2 separate regions of the Homo sapiens genome follow, and region 1 is linked to region 2. The links are contacts of gene promoters, found by promoter capture Hi-C in human tissues and cell types (Jung and others, 2019). All regions are on one chromosome and are shown on one strand. Each heading gives the region's core, a stretch centred on a gene start or on the middle of the fragment in contact. The rest is flanking DNA. Distances are from core to core; before and after follow the strand shown. Region 1 overlaps FCHSD2 (FCH and double SH3 domains 2). Region 2 holds the start of NUMA1 (nuclear mitotic apparatus protein 1).

Region 1 (4,927 bases), core at 1,431-3,930, 1.0 Mb before region 2:
ACTGAGGTATCTGGAAGAAGAAGAAATTTTGCCTCAAGACTGCAGCATCAACTCCTATCTCAGTTTGGCAGCCTGATGGCCTGCCCTACAGATTTTGGACTTGTCAGCTCCTACAATTGCATGAACCAATTTCTTAAAATAAATATCTTTATGTCTGTCTGTGTCTAGCTATCTGCCTTCTCTCTCGTGTTTTCTCTCTTCCCTATTCACTCTGTTTCTCTGAAGAACCTTGATGCATGCACCCTCCAGTGCCAGAAGACATGAAAACGACACGAAAGTATAGAGTTGGAAAAGATATATAAGATTGTTTTCATTTAAAAACAGTGAGATAGGGCGGGCGCAGTGGCTCACAGCACTTTGGGAGGCCAAACGTCAGGAGAACGAGACTATCCTAGCTAACACAGTGAAACCCCATCTCTGCTAAAAATACAAAAGAGGCACTGAAGAAGGTAGGAAAGAGAGTCTTGAATTGCCAACGCCACCCCTCTTCCATACCCTGGCACTGGCTGCATGGTGTGGAGATTCTGCATGTCAGGGAGGGAGAGTGCTGTGATTGAGACCCTCCATTGAACTCAGTGCTGTTCTGTCGAAGGGGAAAGCAAAACTGGGCTAAACTTAGCCAATGACCACTCATGGAGGGAGCATTTAGGCCAGCCATAGTCAGAGGGGAATCTCCCAGCCCAGTTGTTGGAACTTGAATTTCAGCACGCCTTGCCACTGCAGGCTAAATTGCTGTAGGCCCTACATAAACTTGAAAGGCAGTCTAAGACACTAGGACTCCAATTCTTAGGCAAGTCTTTGTGCTGAGCTGGGCTCAGAGCCAGTGAACATGGTGGGGCACATGACCTAGTGAGACACCAGCCATGGCGTCCGAGGGAGTACTTGTGCCACCCCTCCCTCAGTTTTGGGCGCACAGCTTGTAGCTTCAAAAAAGACCCCCTCCTTCCGCTTGAGAAGAGGAGAGGTAAGAGTAAAGAGGACTTTTATCTTACATCTTGGATACCAGCTCAACCACTGGAGGATAGGGCACTGGGCGGAGTCATCAGGCCCTAGCTTCTGGATGACATATGTAGACACACCCTGGGCCAGAAGGGAAACTCCTGCCTTGAAGAGAAGGATCCAGTCCTGGTGGCATTCTTTACCTGCTGACTAAAGTGCCCTTGGGCCCTGAGGAACCAGCAGCAATACCTAGTTAGTACGCTGTGGGTCTTGGGTGAGCTTCTGTGATGTGCTGGCTTCAGGTGAGACCCAGCATATTTCCAGCTATGGTGGCTACAGTGAGAAACTCCTGCTTGAGAAAAGGGGAGGGAAAAGTGAAGGAGATTTAGTTTTGCACCTCAGGTATCAGCTTGGCCACAGTTGGGTAGAGCACCAAGCAGGCTCTTGGGGCCTCTGATTCCAGGATTTGGCCCTTGGACAGCGTTTCTGGACCTGCCCTGGGCCAGATGGGAGCCTACTGCGCTGAAGGGTTAGTCCCAGGTCTGGAAGAATTCACCACAAGATGACTGAAGAGCACTTGAGCCTGAAGTGAACATTGGCAGTAGCCTTGCAGTACCCTCTGTGGTTCTGGGGTGGTGATGACCTTGGGGAGAAGCTCTTCTGCTTGTGGAAAGAGAAGGGAAGAATAGGAAGGACTTTTGTCTTATAGTTTGAGTGCCAGCTTAGCTGCAGTAGAATAGAGCATCAAGTAGATTTCAAAGGTTTTTGACTCCAGTACCTGGCTACTGGCATCTCTGGACCTGCCTGGGGTATGGGGGAAATTGCCACCCTAAAGGGAAGGACAGAGGCCCAGCTTGCTTTATCACCTGCTGATTGTAGAGCCCTAGGCCCTTGAGCAAAGAGACCAAGTGTTGTGAGAAAGTAAGGAAAGAGAACAAGAATCTCTGCCTAGTAATATAGAGAATTCTTCTGGATCTTAACCAAGACCACTAAGGCAGTACCACTACAAGTTTTCAAGAAACATAGCATTACTGGGCTTGGGGTGCCCCCTAATGCAGATGTGGCTTAGATTACAACACCCAAGTTTCTTCAGATACCTGACAAACTTTCCCAAGAAGGATGGGTACAAATGGGTGTTTCTTCAAATGCCTGGAAAACTTTCCCAAGAAGGACGGGTACAAACAAGCCCAGACTATGACGACTACAATAAATACCAAACTCTTCAATGCCTGGACACCGACAAATATCCACAAGCATCAAGGCCAAGTCTTGGCAACATGGCGAAACCCCGTTTCTACTAAAAATAGAGAAACTAGCTGGGCGTGGTGGCACATGCTTGTAGTCCCAGCTACTCAGGAGGCTGAGGTGGGAGGATCACTTAAGCCCAGGATGCAGAGGTTGCAGTGAGCCAAGATCACATCACTGCACTCCAATCTAGGTGACAGAGTGAGACCTTGTCTCAGAAAAAAAAAAAAAAAAAAAAAAAAAAAAAAAGACCATCTTGGGAAGCATGATGATCAACCAAACTAAGGTACCAGGGAACAGTCCTGGAGAAACAGAGCTATGTGACCTTTCAGACAGATAATTCGAAATAGCTATTTTGAGGAAACTCTAAGAAATTCGAGATAACACAGAGAAGGACTTCAGAATTCTATCAGATAAGCTTAGCAAAGAGATTGAAATACTTACAAAAAATCAAGCAGAAATTCTGGAGTTGAATAATGCATCATAATTTCTTAACAGCAGAATTTATCAAGCAGAATAAAGAATTAGTGAGCTTGAAGATAAACTCTTTGGAAATGCACAGAGAAGACAGAAGAAAAAAGAATAAAAATGAAGCACGCCTACCAGATCTAGAAAGTAGCTGCAAAAGGGCATATCTGGCCGAGGGCAGTGGCTCATGCCTGTAATCCCAGCATTTTGGGAGGCCGAGGTGGGTGGATTATTTGAGGTCAGGAGTTCAAGACGAGCTTGGCTAACATGGTGAAACCCCATCTCTACTAAAAATACTAAATAAGTAAATAAATAAATGTTAGCCAGGCATGATAGTGTATGCCTGTAACCCCAGCTACTCAGGAGGCTGAGGCAGGAGAATTGCTTGAACTTGGGAGGCAGAGGTTGTAGTGAGCTGAGATCATGCCACTGCACTCCAGCCTGGGCGACAGAGCGAGACACCGTCTCAACAACACCAACACCACCACCAACAACAAAAAGGCAAATCTAAGAGTTATTGACCTTAAAGAGGAGGCAGGGAGAGAGATCAGAGTAGAAAGTTTATTCACGGGGATAACAACAGAGAACTTCCCAAACCTAGGGAAAGCTATCAGTATTCAAGTATAAGAAGCATATAGAACACCAAGCAGATTCAGCCCAAAGAAGACTACCTTAAGGCATTTAATAATGAAACTCCCAAATGTCAAGGATAAAGAACAGATCCTAAAAGCAGCAAGAGAAAAGAAACAAAAACACATAATGGAGCTCCAATATGTCCAGCAGCAGACTTTTCTGTGGAAACCTTACAGACCAGGAAAGAGTGACATGACATGTTTAAAGTGCCAAAGGGGAAATCTTTTACCCTAGAGTGGTATGTCTGGTGAAAATATCCTTCAAACATTAAGGAAAAATAAAGGCTTTTCCAGACAAACAAAAGCTGGGGAATTTCATCAACACCAGACCTGTCCTATAAGAAATGCTAAAGGGAGTTCTTTAATCAGAAAGAAAAGGACATTAATGGGCAATAAGAAATTATCTAAAGGTACAAAACTCACTGGTAATAGTAAGTACACAGAAAAACAATTTTATAACACTGTAATTGTGATGTATAAGTTATTCTTAAGTAGAAAGACTAAAAGATGAACAAATTAAAAATATTAACTACAACAGCTTTTAAAGACATATCCAGTATAATATGATATAAATAGTAACAACCAAAAGTTAAAAATAGGGGGACAAAGTTAAAAGTGTAGGTTTTTATTAGTTTTCTTTTTGCTTGTTTGTTTATGCAATCAGTGTTGTCATCAGTTTAAAATAATTGGGTTTTATGGTAGTATTTGCAAGCCTTGTGGTAACCTCAAATCAAAAATCATATAACAGATACACAAAAAATAAAAAGCAAGAAATTAAAACACCCCACCAGAGAAAATCACCTTCACTAAAAGGAAGACAGGAAGGAAGGAAAGAAGGAAGAGATGACCACACACCCAAAAATAAAATAACAGGAGTAAGTCTTTATCAGTAACAACATTGAATGTAAATGGATTAAACTCTTCAATCAAAAGACATAGAGTGGCTGACTGGATTGAAAAAAACAAGATCCAGTGACCTGTTGCCTACAGGAAACACACTTCACCTATAAAGACACACATAGACTGAAAAAAAAAAAAAGGATGGAGAAAGATATTCCATGCTAATGGAAGCCAAAAAAGAACAGGAGTAGCTATGCATATATCAGACAAAAACTTTTAGAAGAGACAAAGAAGGTCATTGTATAATGATAAAGAGGTCAATTTAGCAAGAAGATATAACAGTTGTAAATATATATGTACCCAATACTGGAGCACCCAGATATGTAAAGCAAATATTAGAGCTAAAAAGAGAGATAGGATCTTCCAAACAGAAAATCAGCGAAGAAACATCACTCTTAATCTGTACTATAGACCGAATGGACCTGGTAGTTACAGAACATTTCATCCAGTGGCTCCAGAATACACATTCCTTTCCTCAGCACATGGATCATTCTCAAGCATAGACCATATGTCAGGTGACAAAGCAAGTCTTAAAACATTAAAAAAAACCCCTGAAATAATAGCATGTATCTTCTCTGATCACAATGGAATAAAACTAGAAATCAATAACAAGAATAATTTTGGAAACTATATAACCACATGGAAATTAAACAATGTGCTCCACAATGACTAGTGGGTTAATGAAGAAATTAAGGAGGAAATTGAAAAATTTATTAAAACAAATGATAATGGAAACATGACAT
Region 2 (4,533 bases), core at 1,444-3,943:
ATGGTTAGACTGGAGGCTGGAGAGATGGGAGCAATAGGAAACCACATAGTATTAATATTAAATGGGGGCTGGCTGGGCGTGGCGGCTCACGCCTGTAATCTCAGCACTTTGGGAGGCCAAGGTGGGCAGATCACCTGAGGTCGGGAGTTCGAGACCAGCCTGACCAACATGGAGAAACCCCGTCTCTACTAAAAATATAAAATTAGCCGGGTGTGGTGGCGCATGCCTGTAATCCCAGTTACCTGGGAGGCTGAGACAGGAGAATTGCTTGAAACCGGGAGGTGGAGGTTGCTGTGAGCCGAGATTGCGCCATTGCACTCCAGCCTGGGCAGCAAGAGCGAAACTCTGTCTCAAAAAGAAAAAAAAAAAATTGGGGGTGGGGTAGAGAGTGAACAGTATCAGCTTTGCATTTTGAAGGATCACTCTGGTTGCAGTGCGCAAATATGGCTGGGAGGGAAGGCAGGAAGGATGTGATGGTAGCTAGGACCTATATAAAAGATATTCAGGAAGTAAAGCTGATAAGACTTAGTGATAGATGGGAAATGGAAGAGGTATTAAGTAAATGGAAGAGGTACTAACTTGGGTTTTGGGCTTGGGTATATTGTGGATAAAGGTAGGAGCACTGGAAGAGATCCAGGCTTGGAGGAAAAGGTTGGGATACACAGAGATTGTTTCAATTTCAGAAATGTAGAGTTTGGGTTGCCTTTGAGGTATCCTAAAGGAGATGTTGAGGCAATTGGCTATATAGATCTGGAGCTTAGAGATGAGGGCTGGGCTTGAGATACACACTTGTGTACATTTGCATACAGGTGGAAAATGAAGTTGTGGGTGTGGAGGGGTACCCAAGAAGAGAATATAGAGTGCAGTGGCAAGAGGGCGTAGGACCAAACCTGGGAGAACTTTAAGGTAGTAAGTGGACCAGTCAGGGCCAGCTAGTCACCAGCTAGAAACCAGCTAATCATGGTCACTTCAGACATGGGTGCTGTGTTAGCCCTTCTGTTTCCTGTTTAGTTAAAAATGTTCAAGTCTCATTGTCTTAGTCTCTCTAGTTCCTTTTCCCCATTAAAAGTTTCAGGGGAGGATCTGAAATTCATTCCAGCTGAAGTGTAAATAATACAAAGTAGGCCACACAGGTTCCTTTTCCCTGGGGCAGTTTAACTTGTTCCTTGGAACAAGTCCTTCCGCTATAGAGGCAGTAGGCTGAAGCTAAAGAGACTTAGCTGGAAGTCGGAGAACTGGAGTCTAGTTCTAGCTCTGTCACTAATTTGGTGTGTGGCCTTGGGCAAGTCCCTTTTCTCTGGGTTTCAGTTTTCCAATCTGTGAAATGAAGATAAATATCCTTGACTCACAGAGCTGTTAAGAGTATCAAAAGAGAGACTGTGAAAGCACTGGGTAGGTTACTAAATGTAATAGATCTGTCGTGAGTACTAAAAAAAATGAAGCTCTAACTGTAGAGCTTTGAGTAGCGGACCACGGAGAAGGTGTGGGGAGAAAAGGGAATCTGGGGACAGATTGAGAAGGGGTTTTACTCCTTGGAAGAAGAAGGAATGAGGCACTTCACGCCCCAGGAAGTTTCCTACATCTCTAGAATTAGGGTAGCGACTGCGATTTACTCAATCTAATGCTAACCGCATGTCTTGGAAGAGGGTCTCAGTTCCTCAGAGGAAAACCAACCCCATTTCTGAGGGCGTTTCTGATCTCCCAGGTTATGCCTGGAACTTGAAGCATCCGATTTTGGGAGCTTTATGTTTGCGTTGGGGGCGGGGTTCGTTGTTTTGTTTTGTTTTTGTTTTGTTTCGTTTTGTTTTGTTTTGAGATGGAGGTATCGCTCTATAGCCCAGGCTGGAGTGTAGTTGCGTGATCACGGCTCACTGCAGCTTCAATCTCCGGGCTCAAGCGATCCTTCTACCTCAGCCTCCCTAGTAGCTGGGGCCACTGGAGCGCGCCACCAAGCCCGGCTAATTTTTTTATGTTTTTGGTAGAGACAGGGTTCGCCATGTTTCTCAGGCTGGTCTCGAACTCCTGGCCTTAAGTGGTCCGCCCGCCTTGGTCTCCCAGTGTTGGGATTACAGGCGTGAGCCACCGCTCCCGGCCCTGGGGGTGGTTCTTAAGCATCCCCAAATCTGTATGGATATATATCTCAACGCCTATCCCTCCCTCTGCTCCCCCTCGCCCAGTCTGTCCCATGTGAGTGTTGTATCTTGTTCGCTGTGAAAGGTGATGAGGGTCGGTGGGGGAAATCTCAGATCCCCGAGCAGGAAGGTTCTTAGTCGTTCTGTGAGTGCCCCTCCCTTCTCCATAGATCTCTTGTCCCCTAGAACGGGTTTCCTGTTTTCCCGCCCGACTCACCCGCAGTCGCTTCCTCTCCAGTCTTGGCGTCCCACTGCCTCAGGGTTACTCAGAGCAACTCCATGGCAACTGCTTTCGTCACCACAACCCGGCAGGCGCCATAAGTACTGACGCGATGCTTACCGGGACCTTCAGTTTGTCAGGGGCGGGGCTTCAAGGCCGCGGGTGACGCTGGGATTTGTAGTTCTCTTTGCCTTCAAGTACAGGCCGGGGTCCGGAAGCGGTGATACCCCTTCTCTTTCCCAGTGGCCCTCAAACTTCCTTTTCCCGGGTCCTTAAGCGGGCCCCGCCGACAGAGGCCAATCAGAGGGCAGCGCGAGGGGGCGGGGCCATAGTTTAAACTAATTGTGCGCTCACAGCGCTGGCGCGAGCCCACGAAGAGGTACGATTCCGGAGAATCGCGAGGCAGAGCGGGAGCGCGCAGCCAGGTAACCGGCGCGGGCCCGCGTTTGGCGTGCGGCCTGGGCACCCCTGCGGGTGCTCAGGCCTAAAAGGGGTGCTGGAGAGGCCGCTGCGAGCGGAAGGCCTCCTCCATAACCGAGTCCGAAAGGGCAGAATCTATGGGGGTAAGGTTTGTGAGGAGAGGCGCCTGAGAGGGAGGAGCCGGGGGGGGGGGGGGTGCCTTAAAGGGGAGGGTCTGTTTGGGGGCGTGTCTGTGGAATTAAATCTGAAGGTGACTGGGGTCGGGGGTATAGGGCAAGTTCCCGAAAGGCTTGTAAGCGAGGGGTCGGGTCCTGGAAAGTCTTTGCCTTTTATCGTTAACAATAGCAGTAGTTATGGTAGTGCAGTAGTCAGCATTTTCTGAGCTACACCGTCCACAATGACCTGCCAAATGTTTATCTTTTTAATCTTCTAACCACCTGTTATACTTTAAAGATGGGGAGCCTGAGGTTTATAATGTTTAGCTTGGCCCGGGTTACGTAGCCAGTGCGAGGTTGGCTCTACTTTGGGTTTATGGGTTGGGCATAAATGGGGACGGGGAAGGTGCTTTGTGGGGGCGCGCGTTGTCTTGGACTGGTCAGTGTATTTTGAGCCTCACTTTTCATATATGTAAACAATGACCTTACCTGCCTTACCTACTTCCTGGGGTGGTTGTCCTGGTCAAAACAGGTTAAGTCTTTTTTTTTTTTTTTTTTAATTTTTGTTTGTTTTTGTTTTTCATCCATGGACTCTCACAGATAACATGTTTCATACACGCACCTCGGAGAGTACAAATTTATGACTATAAGTGGTGTGACTGTGTGAAGATTGTGGGTGGGCGGGAGCCCACTGGGTTGATGCTGCCGCCTCTGGGTACTCTCTTTTGCTTACCTCTGAGTTAGCACTTGTCATTTTTTTTTTTTTTTGAGACGGAGTCTCGCCCTATCGCCCAGGCCGGAGTGCAGTGGCGCGATCTCGGCTCACTGCAACCTCTGCCACCCGGGTTCAAACAGTTCCCTGCCTCAGCCTCCCGAGTAGCTGGGATTACAGGCGCCCGCTACCACACCCGGCTAACTTTTGTATTTTTAGTAGACACAGGGTTTCACCATCTTGGCCAGGCCGGTCTTGAACTCTTGACCTCGTGATCCGCCCGCCTCGGCTTCCCAAAGTGCTTGGGATTACAGGCGTGAGCCATCACGCCCGGCCTGCCATCTGGTATTTTAAAAGTCTGCGTGTTTGTCTGCCCTTCTAGATAACGAGAGACTTTTTCGTCACTGTATCCTAATGGCTAGGCAGGATTTGCGACATGTAATGGGAATAAATGTATGCTTTGGAATAATTTCTTGGGCTGAAAGGGCACAGGAATTTCGCTTTCCCGTTTTCATTTAGTGGCATTTGAACCTCAGTATTAAGCTGTCCTCTTTACTGGAATGGCACTCCCTCTTGAAAACGTGATGATATTTTCTTGCTTTAATACATAATTCCCTCTCTCTAGTATCTGTTGCCTGGTTCTATGTTTCCAAACTTCTGGGTTGTCTGGTCGTTAAAGCTTTAATGGTAAGGGAGTTGGGCCTCTCTGCTTTGTGGAGATCTTTACTGCTGTGAATATATGGGAACCTGGGGCGAACATGAGGATCATGTAAGGTAGCTTTCTGTCAGCACAGATGGGTTTATGTTTCCTCAGTCCCTCTTTCTGTGTGGTATTTTCTTCTTTAGAGGAAGAACCACATACTTTTTTGTGAAAGCTTCCAAAGTATTCTTTTC

What was found. The method cuts DNA at HindIII sites, captures the fragments that hold promoters and counts their contacts. A contact is called where the count stands out against the background at its distance.
Region 1: a fragment that was not itself captured here is called in contact with the fragment with the promoter of NUMA1 in region 2 in 1 of the 25 tissues and cell types used here (heart left ventricle).

The regions. Positions count from the first base shown.
Region 1 is chr11:73,110,860-73,115,786 of GRCh38, reverse strand. The region is part of intron 2 of FCHSD2 (FCH and double SH3 domains 2); the gene reads left to right. Among named protein-coding and RNA genes, the nearest start is that of FCHSD2, 29 kb to the left of the region's middle. The HindIII fragment of the contact is 4,633 bases long and covers 364-4,927 here.
Region 2 is chr11:72,078,702-72,083,234 of GRCh38, reverse strand. NUMA1 (nuclear mitotic apparatus protein 1) reads left to right here and starts at 2,693. Exons shown (of 27, transcript NM_006185.4): 1 at 2,693-2,777. It overlaps LRTOMT (leucine rich transmembrane and O-methyltransferase domain containing), which reads right to left and starts at 2,385. Exons shown (of 9, transcript NM_001145310.4): 1 at 2,350-2,385. It overlaps LRRC51 (leucine rich repeat containing 51), which reads right to left and starts at 2,385. Exons shown (of 6, transcript NM_145309.6): 1 at 2,350-2,385. RefSeq lists enhancers at 1,372-2,326, 2,338-2,607, 2,327-3,282. The HindIII fragment of the contact is 11,805 bases long and covers 1-4,533 here.